Linked DNA regions of Homo sapiens: region 2 is linked to region 1. Evidence: promoter capture Hi-C in 16 types of primary human blood cells and fetal thymus (Javierre and others, 2016). All regions are on one chromosome and are shown on one strand. The core of a region is centred on a gene start or on the middle of the fragment in contact, and the rest is flanking DNA. Distances in the headings are between cores, read along the strand shown.

Region 1 (5,197 bases), core at 1,734-4,233:
CTTCCTATCTTCTATAAGCTGAGTAAAAAAGTTAATCATTACTAAAAAAAAACCATAAACCCCAAATTGTAGGAAACACCTGGAAAATTTACAAACCTATGGTCCAGCAATTCGCTAAATAAATCTGGGGGCACATTTTGAAGGAAATTTTCCAGTATCCCAGGATAGATGGAACTGGATCTAGTCTGGCTAAGTTAGACTGGCTTAGTTATATTAGCCTTTTGAAGAATATCTGTATTATCTGACAATAATGTTCATGATTTGGTATTAGGTATAAAAGAGTTACAAAAAAGAATGAAGTTTTGGAAGGGTCTTCAGAGAAAAATGAGTGGGAGATGACTCTTCCCAATTCAGAGTATTCTACTGTAATACTTCTTTTCCAGCATCACTTGGCACAATTCAACCACTCAGCTACTTAACAAAACTGTATGAGGCCGGGCGTGGTGGCTCATCCTTGTAATTCCAACACTTCGGGAGGCCAAGGCGGGCGGATCACTGGAGATCAGGAGTTCAAGACCAGCCTGGGAAACATAGCGCAACCCTGTCTCTACTAAAAATACAAAAAAATCAGTGGGGTGTGGTGGCGGGTGCCCGTGATCCTAGCTACTCAAGAGGCTGAGGCAGGAGAATCGCTTGAACCCTGGAGGCAGAGGTTGCAGAGATCGAGTCACTGCACTCAGGCTTGGGTGACAGAGTGAGACCCTGTCTCAAAAAATAAATAAAAAGAAAAAAAACTGAGAGGCAGTAGCACAAAAAATGTTTTATATTTTACAGAGTTCTAGTTTACGTTGTTCCATGGATTCACTGGGTTCTATTATTGTTTTTCCGTGTTCCCATCTTTGTAACATCGTACTAACCTTCATAACATGTAAATACTGCTGAACCTCAATCCCAATAAACTACTAAAGGATTTTTAACATCATACGTTTTGTTTTGCAATGTATTTTTGAAACACATCAAATTTAAATTTTCTTTCCTTTCCATCCTTCTACTGGGCAAGTTTCATATCCTGAATTCCTCATGTAGAACTCTAGAAGGAATTCCATTCCACCTGCGGAAGGACACCTAGTTTACGTATTTGACCTACAGAAAAATTTCTCTGCAACTCTTTCAAATGCTAGTAAAAAACTCCACCCAGTCAGCCTCCCACAACCCCTCCCTTTAACCATCTTCTCCTCCCCACTATCGCCACCCTACCTTGTGCATTCCTTCGTAAACTTACTTCTCATCACCTTCAAGGTTCCACTCCCCTCTTGCCTACATCTGTTTTCATATCCTCCCACTCCCCCAATTCCTGCCAAGAAGCCCCGCTAGCTGCCTGTTGCATAACGGCTCCCCCATTCCGTCTCCCTCGGCAGTCGGCCCCGCTCCCGGGAGCAGGAATGCCCCTTTCGGCCCGGCCCCTCCTCCCTTCCGCAACACGCCCAGCAAGTCCCCGCGACGCAGCTCCAGCGGGGATTCTCTCTCCAAGCTGGGCGGGTCGTCCTTGCCGGCTGGCACCTCGGGTAGCGAGCCCCGAGGGCAGAGGAGCCGGCTCCACCCGGCCTGGCCCCGAACCCTCCGCGGCGCCGGCCAATCGCCGCTGCCATCCTCCCGCTGGGGTGATGTCTTCAGGTGTCCGGGAGGGGAGAAAGCCCTGCGTACTTCCAGCCCCGCTCCTGTGCCAGGAACCGGCGGCCCTCCGAGCCCTCCGGAGCCGGCCTCCGGGCCCCGAGCGCGGCGAGGCAAGCAGGGGCGGCGAAGGGTCCGGGTGGGCGGCGGCTACCCGCAGCCCAAAGGCGTGGGCCTGCGAGGCGGGCGGCGCGCGGCCAGGGATGGGCAGCAGCGGGGTACCGAGGCGCCGAGGCCTGGACGCGGGCGCGGCGCGGAGGCCTCGGCGTCCCCAGCCGGGTGTGGGGCGGCCGACTGACTGACGCCGGGCGGGGGCCGCCGACTGCCTCAGCCACTGCGCGGGGCGGGGGCGGCAGCGGCCTCTAGCCTCCCTCGTTCCCTCCCTAGTCCGCTTGCCCGCTCGCCCGCTCGCTCGCTCGCTGGTCCATCCGCCTCCTCACCTTCAGGACCCGGATCCCTCCCGGCCGGCGGCTCGCGGGCGCTTCGGGCGGCTCCGGGGGCTCCAGCGGGCCCGCGGGCCCCGGCTCCACCTCCCCCATCGGCGACCCAGGATTCACAGAGACGCCCGGCCCGCGCGACGGCGTGCGGAGCCTCGGCGGCGCGCGCGAGCAACCGGTGGCCCCGCCCCCCGCGGCCCGCCGGCTCCGCCCCTCCGGCGGCTCGCCAGCTCCGCCCCTCCCGCAGCCCCGCTGGACCTAAGCAGCTGCCGGCGCCGAGTGGCCCGGGCGCCACCGAGCCGCATTCCGGCCGCGGCCCGCGTGGCGGAACCTGGCACCACCGCAGAGCGCTGGGCCTCCACTGCCCGCCGCCCTAGGCTTGGAGGACTAGAGCGCAAGGAGGGGTATTTGCTGCTTTCCCCGCCCTCTAAGAAACCCGCGGGAGAAAGAAGCAGGTGGCGCCGGCACCTGTCAATTGTGACAAGACGCTGCCCTCCGCCAGGGTGGCTCTTGTAACTTCCCTCACCTGCCAAGCCGTTGAACGAACTGTTGAGAATACTCACCTTGGCAAGGCCTTTTCTCTTCCTTATCAGAGATGCGTGCGACCTTCTTAAGCAAATTCAACCCAACCTCGTACAAAACGTCCGCTCACCTCCCAGCCATGTTTTAATTCCCTTGCCTCCTCCTGGAGCAAAATTATCAGAATTCGGTGCTCTGCTTCAAGCAGTAATATGGCCTGTGACCCGGTTTATGATTTATTTGCAAGGCTGATTCAGAAAAAAACTTTTAAAAGTTAACTTCTTTTCTTTTCTTTGTTTTGTTTTTCTTTTCGTTCTCGCAGTGATAGTAGTTTTGTTGCCAATGGGCCAAATTTGGAGTCAGCCAGCCTGTTTCCAGATCTCCCCTCTGCCCTTCTTTAGATCTATACCCCTGTGCAAGTTACTTGATCTAAGCCTTTCGTTCTTAAGCTGTGAGAAAGAGATTAAAATCTGCCAAGTAGTTATGATGAAGATTTAGTGCATACAAAGTGCCTAACGTATAGTGGGGATCCATAGTAGCCATTATAATTCCAAAATTCTAAATTGAAGATCCAATCGGTTTCTCGAAAAGTACTCTGTCGATTCCTCCTAAATTTTCCTAGGAAGGCTTCTAGACTTCCAGATTTTTAGGGCTTCCCCTCATACATAGGGTGTTGAATCTTCAAGCAACTTGTAAGGAATTAGACAGCAAAAAACAGTAATTTCTTCACTTTCATAGAACTGTAATTCCAGTACTTTGGGAAGCCAAGGCAGGCAGATTACTTGAGGCCAGGAGTCCGAGACCAGCCTGACCAACATAGCGAAACCCTGTCTATACCAAAAATACAAAAAAATGAGCTGGGCAGGGTGGCGCACGCCTGTAATCCCAGCCACTTGGGAGGTGGAGGCAGGAGAATCGCTTGAACCCGGGAGGCGGAGGTTGCAGTGAGACGAGATCGTGCCACTGCACTCCAGCCTGGGTGACAAAGCAGGACCCTTTGTCCCTATTATCCATTGCTTCAGTTTGCCTCATTCAGACTAACTGTATGTCTAGAATAATTGCAGGCTTAGTACAAGACTTTTAGATTTAACAGAGCAGTCTGTGTCCCCCATCTGAGATATGTATCCATTTGGAGATATTTTAAATGCCAGGACCAAATTTGGCTCTTGCAGGTTCCGACCCCTTTCTGACCTACTTTCTCCCTTCACAAGTTAGCTTTGTATATACCAAAATTCCAATCTCCAGTAATCTTCATTTCTTGGCCTCATTTTAATGCATTAAAAACGATTTGTCACTGTGAGTCTGGTTTAAGGTGGGAGAAAACTCTTAGGTCATCCACCTCCTGGATTTTCCTTCCACCTTGAAATTATTTTCAGGAAAGGTACTCAAAGTAGTTGGATTCCCATTTCAGTGCTTACTGGGTAATTTCTCCCAACAAGAAAACTGGTATATAAGCAATAGGCACCAATATGGAGACAGAAGCAAATTTTAACAAGGGCAGGCAAGCAGTGATAAGAAAAAAATGTGGTTTAGAACAAGTGTTTCTGGCTGGGTGCAGTGGCTCATGCCTGTAATTCAGCACTTTGGGAGGCCAAGACGGGCAGATCACCTGAGGTCAGGAGTTTGAACCCAGCCTGGCCAACATGGCAAAACCCCATCTCTACTAAAAATACAAAAATTAGGCAGTGTGGGGGCACGAGCCTGTAGGCCCAGCTACTCAGGAGGCTGAGGCAGGAGAATCACTTGAACTTGGGAGGTGGAGGTTGCAGTGAGCCGAGATATCGCGCCACTGCACTGCAGTCTGGGTGACAGAGGGAGACTCTTGTCTCAAGGAAAAAAAAAAGTGTTTTTCAAAAGCCTTTTATATTTTTTTTATTTTTGAGACAGGGTCTCGCTTTGTTGCTCAGGCTGGAGTACGGTATGGACACAATCATAGCTCACTGCAGGTTCAACCTCCATGGGCTAAGGTGATCATGCCACCTCAGCCTCCCAGTAGCTGGGACCACAAGTGAGCACCACCCTACGCTTGGCTACTTTTTGCATTTTTTTTGTAGAGATGGGGCTTCACCATATTGTCCAAGCTGGTCTCGAACTCCTGAGCTCAAGCCATCCGCCCACTTCAGCCTCCCAAAATGCTGGGATTACAGGTGTGAGCCACCACACCTGGCTGTAAGAGTCTGTTTCTTGAGGCATTATACATTACCTTTTCCAGATTTCATGAGTAGAAGCTCTTTATTGACTGACTACACAAAAAGGAAAGATCTTGTTGCAGAACTAAAGTTTCAGCTCATGCTGGGGAACAGCAGTGGTGAATAATTGTTTAATTAAAGGGATAGTAGGCATAAGCATTGCTATTTACTTCTTCATTCTGGCAACAGTAGTTCCTCTTTCAAAAGGGAAAACATAAAAAAAAAAACCCATCCGCCCAAAAGTTTCAGGGGCTAATTTATGATGTAACTACCTTTAATGGTTCCCATGATTTAAGATCCAATTCAGTAGTGACAACCAGTTGATTTTTTTCAAATCATGTAGTGCCATTAACATTTTATACTTTGTTTCAAAGGTCACATATTGATGTTCTCCCCCAGTTCAAGGCACTGTGCATTATGTATGCCAAGGGTTATGTAACT
Region 2 (5,755 bases), core at 1,741-4,240, 180 kb after region 1:
CACACGTCAAAACCAAAAGCTTTTGTACGTATTGGAGTGTCTGTAGCCAGTCTTGACCTTGCTCTCTCCCCTCCTCACTTCGTACTTTTAGAGCTACAAACACTGAGTTTACTCCCTTAGGAAGTCTTTTTTTTTTTTTTTTTTTTTTTGGCTACTTTTAGCTGCTACTACTTTGAATAGAGCTTTCAGGATCACTACTTCTGGGCAGCTTCACTATTTTGGGCAGCAGTTCTGATTCTTTTCCTCCTCCAGATATCCTAAGAGGAAGGACTCAGTCCATGGTTTTACTTTGCTTATTCAGGATGGGGAGGCTAACTAGCTCGCGAAGTCTCAGCGAGCTGAGTGATAAAAGAGGAACTAGATGGGTTTGCTATGCCAGTGTTAAGAATTGGAGTAAAGTGAAGGATTGGGCTGCTGATCCATGTGTGACACTAATAAAAATAATGGTGTTACACTAATAAAGATAAGTATATATGTATATAAACAGAATACCGAGAACTAGGATTGTGGTCACTAGTTCATAACCATTTTTTAGAGTTTATGTTATAATTGCTTACTTGTCTTATAGTTGTTTTTATGTCAGCTATACCCATTTGATTGTGAGCCCCTTGAAGGCTAGGGAAGCTCTCATTTGAATGTCTGTTGTAGACAGTGGCTTAGCACAGTGCTTAATAGAATAGCACTCAATAAATATTTGGTGAGTGAGTGAATGACAGTAAAGATGTTGAAGCACAGTGATTTTAGAGTAACGTCTGAATCACAAAAAGAATTTTAGATTACTTACTGGACAATGTTAGTATGTGATGTGTATATAATCACATATGTATAAAAATTTGTTTATGTTTGTTAATGTATATATGAATAGTAAATGTTGACTAGAATATTTTATTAACTTTTAGGTTATTATTTCCAAAATTAATGTTCCTAATCATACAGGATAACAAAGTTTATGTTATGTTTAGCTTTGGAAACAGGTTCAAATTCTGAGATAGTAATTAAGTCAGTCTTTTGGTTTTTTTTCTTTTTTTTTGAGACGGAATCTTGCTCTGTCGCCCAGGCTGGAGTGCAGTAGCACGATCTCGGCTCACTGCAAGCTCCACCTCCCGGGTTCACGCCATTCTCCTGCCTCACCCTCCCAAATAGCTGGGACTACAGGCACCCATCACCACACCCAGCTAATTTTTTGTGTTTTTAGTAGAGATGGGGTTTCACTGCGTTAGCCAGAATGGTCTCGATCTCCTGACCTCGTGATCCACCCACCTCGGCCTCCCAAAGTGCTGGGATTACAGGTGTGAGCCACCGCGCCCTGCGTAGTCTTTTGCTTTAAATTCGTTTTTAGTCTGATTTATTTAATGTACTGGTAATCATTTAGGATATATCCTTTAGTTACTACTTTTGTGGTTTACTGTCATTGTCTTTAATGATTAGTTTCTTCGTAAAATGGGGATCTGTTGAATAGGAGTTGAAAAATCCTCAGTACTTAACAAAATAGTTTAGCAAATTGCTTTTCTTTCCTTAATTCTAAAACAAAACTAGATTATGTAAATTTGTAGAATTTTTTTAAAAGCATGTGGTTTTTAATTAAATTTTCTACTAATTAACATAATACATGAGCGACAGCTTTGTACAAAACACTGTGCTAGGCAGTGTGTGGGTGACATACCGTTCTAGGCAGTATGTAAGAAACAGTTGTCTTGCAGTGAGATTGAAACAGATTAATCAGAATTGTTAAACCGAGGGAAAAAGATATAAAGCATGCCTTAAACATCTTATTTTAACATAAAACACACAAAAGAGGCTAGCTAATCTTTAGATGAAGAGCTAAGACTTTTTAAAATATGGGTCCATTGACTGGAATTTATTTAACAAATGTTTACATGGTGCTTACTGTGTACATATAACACAATGTGCTAATTTCTTTACAAATTTTCACTTAATTCTCATACCAGCCCAAGAGGTGTGAAGGTTCATGTAATATTAGTACTGATTTTCCTCAGATGTTTGATAGAATTTGCCAGAGAAGCCACCTGGGCCTGGATTTTCTTTGGGAATGGTTCTTAATTTTAGATTTAATTGTTTTTTTTTTGAGACAAAGTCTGGCTCTGTCATCCAGGCTGGAATGCAGTGGTGTGATCTCGGCTCACTGCAACCTCCACCTCCTGGGTTCAAGCAATTCTTCTGCCTCAGCCTCCCGAGTAGCTGGGATTACAGATGCCTGCCACCACGCCTGGCTAATTTTTGTATTTTTAGTAGAGATGGGGTTTCACCATGTTGGCCAACCTGGTTTCGAACTCTTGACCACAAGTAATCTGCCCGCCTCGGCTTCCCAAAGTGCTGGGATTATAGGCGTAAGCCACCGCGCCCAGCCTAGATTCAATTTTTGTAATAGATCTAGTGCAGCTATATTTTCTATTTCTTTGTGTCAAATTTAGTAAATTTGAGTTTCTGAGGGATTTGTTTATTTCATTTAATTGTTGAATTTATAGATATATGTTGGTTATAATATCGCCTTTAAAAGTCTTTAGAATCTGTAGTGATATTCACCCTTTCATCGCTGATACTGATAATTTATATGTTTATATGTTCCTTTTCTTTGTGAGTTTGTTATATAGGTATGTCAGTTTTTAAAAAATCGTTTTGAAGAATCAGCATTTAGTTTCCTTGATTTTTTTTCTATTTTTTCTTCTATTTCATTGATTTTTGCTTTCTTTTTGTTGTTTTTGCTTACTTTGGTTTGATTTTGCTCTTTTTCTGGTTCCTTAATGTGGAAGCTTAGATTAGTAATTTGAGACCTTTTTTCTGGAGAGACAGAGTCTTGCTCTGTTGTCCAGCCTAGAGTGCAGTGGGCATGATCATAGCTCACTGCCTCCTCAAACTCTCGTGCTCACTGCCTCAGCCTTGCAAGTAGCTGGGACTCCAGGTGTGTGCCACCATGCCCTGCTAATGTTTTAATTTTTTTGTAGAGAATGGGGTCTTGCTACATTGTCCAAGCTGGTCTCAAACTCCTGGCCTCAAGTGATCCTCTCCCCTTGGCCTCCCAAAGTGCTGGAATTACAGGTGTGAACCACTGAGCCTGGCCTCTTCTTTTCTAATTAAAACCTTAATGATATAATTTTTTCTCTAAGCACTGCCTTAGCTACATCCCACAAATTCGTTACATATATATATTTTTTTTTTCAGTACAAACCTTTAAAAAATTTTTTTCACTTGAAGCTTTCTCTTTGACCTCCAAGCAGTTCATCTAGAAGTATATTGTTGAATTCCCAAATGTTAAGAGATTTTCTGTTGATTTCTAGTTTAATTCCATTACAGTTAAAGAACATTCTTGGTATGACTTCAATTCTATTTAATTTGGGTTTTGTTTTCCTCTTCTTTAAAAATTTAATAGAGACGAGGTCTTACTGTGTTACTCAGGCTGGTCCCTTGGCCTCAAACGATCCTTCTACCTCAGCCTCTCAAGTAGCTGAGGTTATAGGTGAGAGCTACCATGCCTGGTCCTATTTAATTTGTTAAGTTTGATTTTAGAACCCCAGCTATGTCCTACATTCATGAATGTTCTAGTACACTGCTGTGTTGGGTGTAATGTTCTGTAAGTGTCAGTGAGATGCCGTCAGTTGGTGGTGGTGTTCAGTTCACTGTCCTTGTTTGTGTTCTGTCTGCTAGGTTGATCAGTTATGGTGGGAGGTATGTTGAAGCCTCTAACTATAATTAGATTTATTTCTCCTTTCCTCTCTGTTAGTTTTTGCTTTTTGTTTTTGAAGCTCTGTTGTTGGGTGCATTCACAGTTAGGATTGTTGTATCTTCCTGGTGACTTCACCCTTTTATGCTTATGTAATGTCCTTCTGTATCCCTGGTTTTCCTTTCTCTGAAGTCTACTTTGTCTGATTTTAATGTAACCCCTCCAACGTTCTATTTGTTTGGTGGTGGTGGTGGTTGTTTTGAGACGGAGTTTCGCTGTTGTTGCCCAGGCTGAGTGCAGTGGTGTGATCTCCGCTCGCTGCAATCTCTGCCTGCCAGGTTCAAGCAATTTTCCTGCCTCAGCCTCCCAAGTAGCTGGGATTACAGGCTTATGCCACCACGCCTGGCTAATTTTTTATTTTTAGTAGAGATGGGGTTTCGTCATGTTGACCAGGCTGATCTCGAACTCCTGACCTAAGTGATCCACCTGCCTCGGCCTGCCAAAGTTTTGGGATTACAGGCGTGAGCCATTGCGCCCGGCCTGTTGTTTTGAGACAGGATCTTGCTCTGTTGCCCAGTCTGGAGTGCACTTGCACAAACATGGCTGTCTGCAGCCTTGACCTCCTGGGCTTAAGCAGTTCTCCCACTTCAGTCCCCCCGAGTAGCTGGGACTACAGGCACATGCTACCGTGTCCAGCTAATTTTTATTTTTAATTGTAGAGATGGGATCTTGCTCTTAGTCTGGTCTTGAACTCCTGAGCTCCAGCGATCCTCCCACATCAGCCTCCCAAAGTGCTGGGCTTACGGCATGAGCCACCATACCTGGCCTCCAACTTTCTTTTGATTAGTGTTTGCATATATACCTTTCCCATACTTTACTTTTAAACTACCTACATTATTATATTTGAAGTGAGTTTGTTGTTGACAGTATATAGTGGATCATTTTTTGGTTCATTCTCACAATATCTGTCTTTTAATTGTGTTTATACCATTTTCATTTAATTATGTAATTTTTGAATGTTTGAGTTTAGGTCTACATTTTATTATTTGTTTTCTGTTCTCTCATTTTTGTTTCTGTTTCCTGCTTTTTGAGCTATTTGAACATATTTTTAAATTCCATTAAAAAATTTTTTTTTTGCTTTTTTTGTGTAGTATTTTTGTTTTTTTGTTTTTTGAGATGGAGTCTCACTGTGTCACCCAGGCTGGAGTGTAGTGGCGTGGTCTCAGCTCACTGCAGCCTCTGCCTCCCGTGTTCAAGCAATTCTCCCGCCTCAGCCTCCCAAGTAGCTGGGACTGCAGGTGCGTGCCATCACACCGGGCTAATTTTTGTATTTTTAGTAGAGATGGGGTTTTACTATGTTGGCCAGGCTGGTCTCGAACTCCTGACCTCGTGATCCACCCACCTTGCCCTCCCAAAGTGCTGCGATTATGGGCATGAGCCACCATGCCTGGCCGTATACAATTTTTTAGTGGTTGCTCTAGGGGTTACAATGGATGAACTTTTCTTTTTTTTTTTTTGAGACAGTTTCACTCTCGTTGCCCAGGCTGGAGTGCGATGGCACCATGTCAGCTCACTGCAACCTTCGTCTGCTGGGTTCAAGTGATTCTTTTGCCTCAGCCTCCCTAGTAGCTGGGATTACAGGCGCCCACCACCATGCCCAGCTACTTTTTTGTATTTTTAGTAGAGACGGGGTTTCACCATGTTGGCCAGGCTGGTCTTGAACTCCTGACCTCAGGCGATCCACCTGCCTTGGCCTTCCAAAGTGCTGGGATTACAGGCGTGAGCCACCGCACCCAGTCGAACTTGTTTTCATAGGCTACTTCCAGTCAATGTTTTTCCACTTCTCATGGAGTATGAAAACCTTACTATTCTATAGATGATCTCTTTACCCTTCTTCCCTTTATCCCATAATGTTTTGGTTATCTTATGTATTACATTTACATACATTGAAAGCTCTATCAGACAGTACTGGTTTTGTTTTTAATTGTCAAACATATTTTAAGAGACTTGCAGAGCCATCTGTAACAGATATTCGCCGTTTCTGTAACTCTTGCTTTATAATGTTCTGGGTTTCCT

What was found. Contacts are between HindIII fragments. The CHiCAGO score rates a contact against its expected background, and 5 or more counts as called.
Region 2: a contact is called between a fragment that was not itself captured here and the fragment with the promoter of PHLPP2 in region 1, in 1 of 17 cell types (non-activated CD4 T cells). The highest score is 5.7, in non-activated CD4 T cells.

Annotation. Positions count from the first base shown.
Region 1 is chr16:71,721,718-71,726,914 of GRCh38, forward strand. PHLPP2 (PH domain and leucine rich repeat protein phosphatase 2) reads right to left here and starts at 2,984. Exons shown (of 19, transcript NM_015020.3): 1 at 2,612-2,984. RefSeq lists an enhancer at 1,321-1,822 and a silencer at 1,588-2,557. The HindIII fragment of the contact is 20,650 bases long and covers 1-5,197 here.
Region 2 is chr16:71,900,202-71,905,956 of GRCh38, forward strand. All of the region lies in intron 1 of IST1 (IST1 factor associated with ESCRT-III), which reads left to right. Among named protein-coding and RNA genes, the nearest start is that of IST1, 7.5 kb to the left of the region's middle. The HindIII fragment of the contact is 442 bases long and covers 2,770-3,211 here.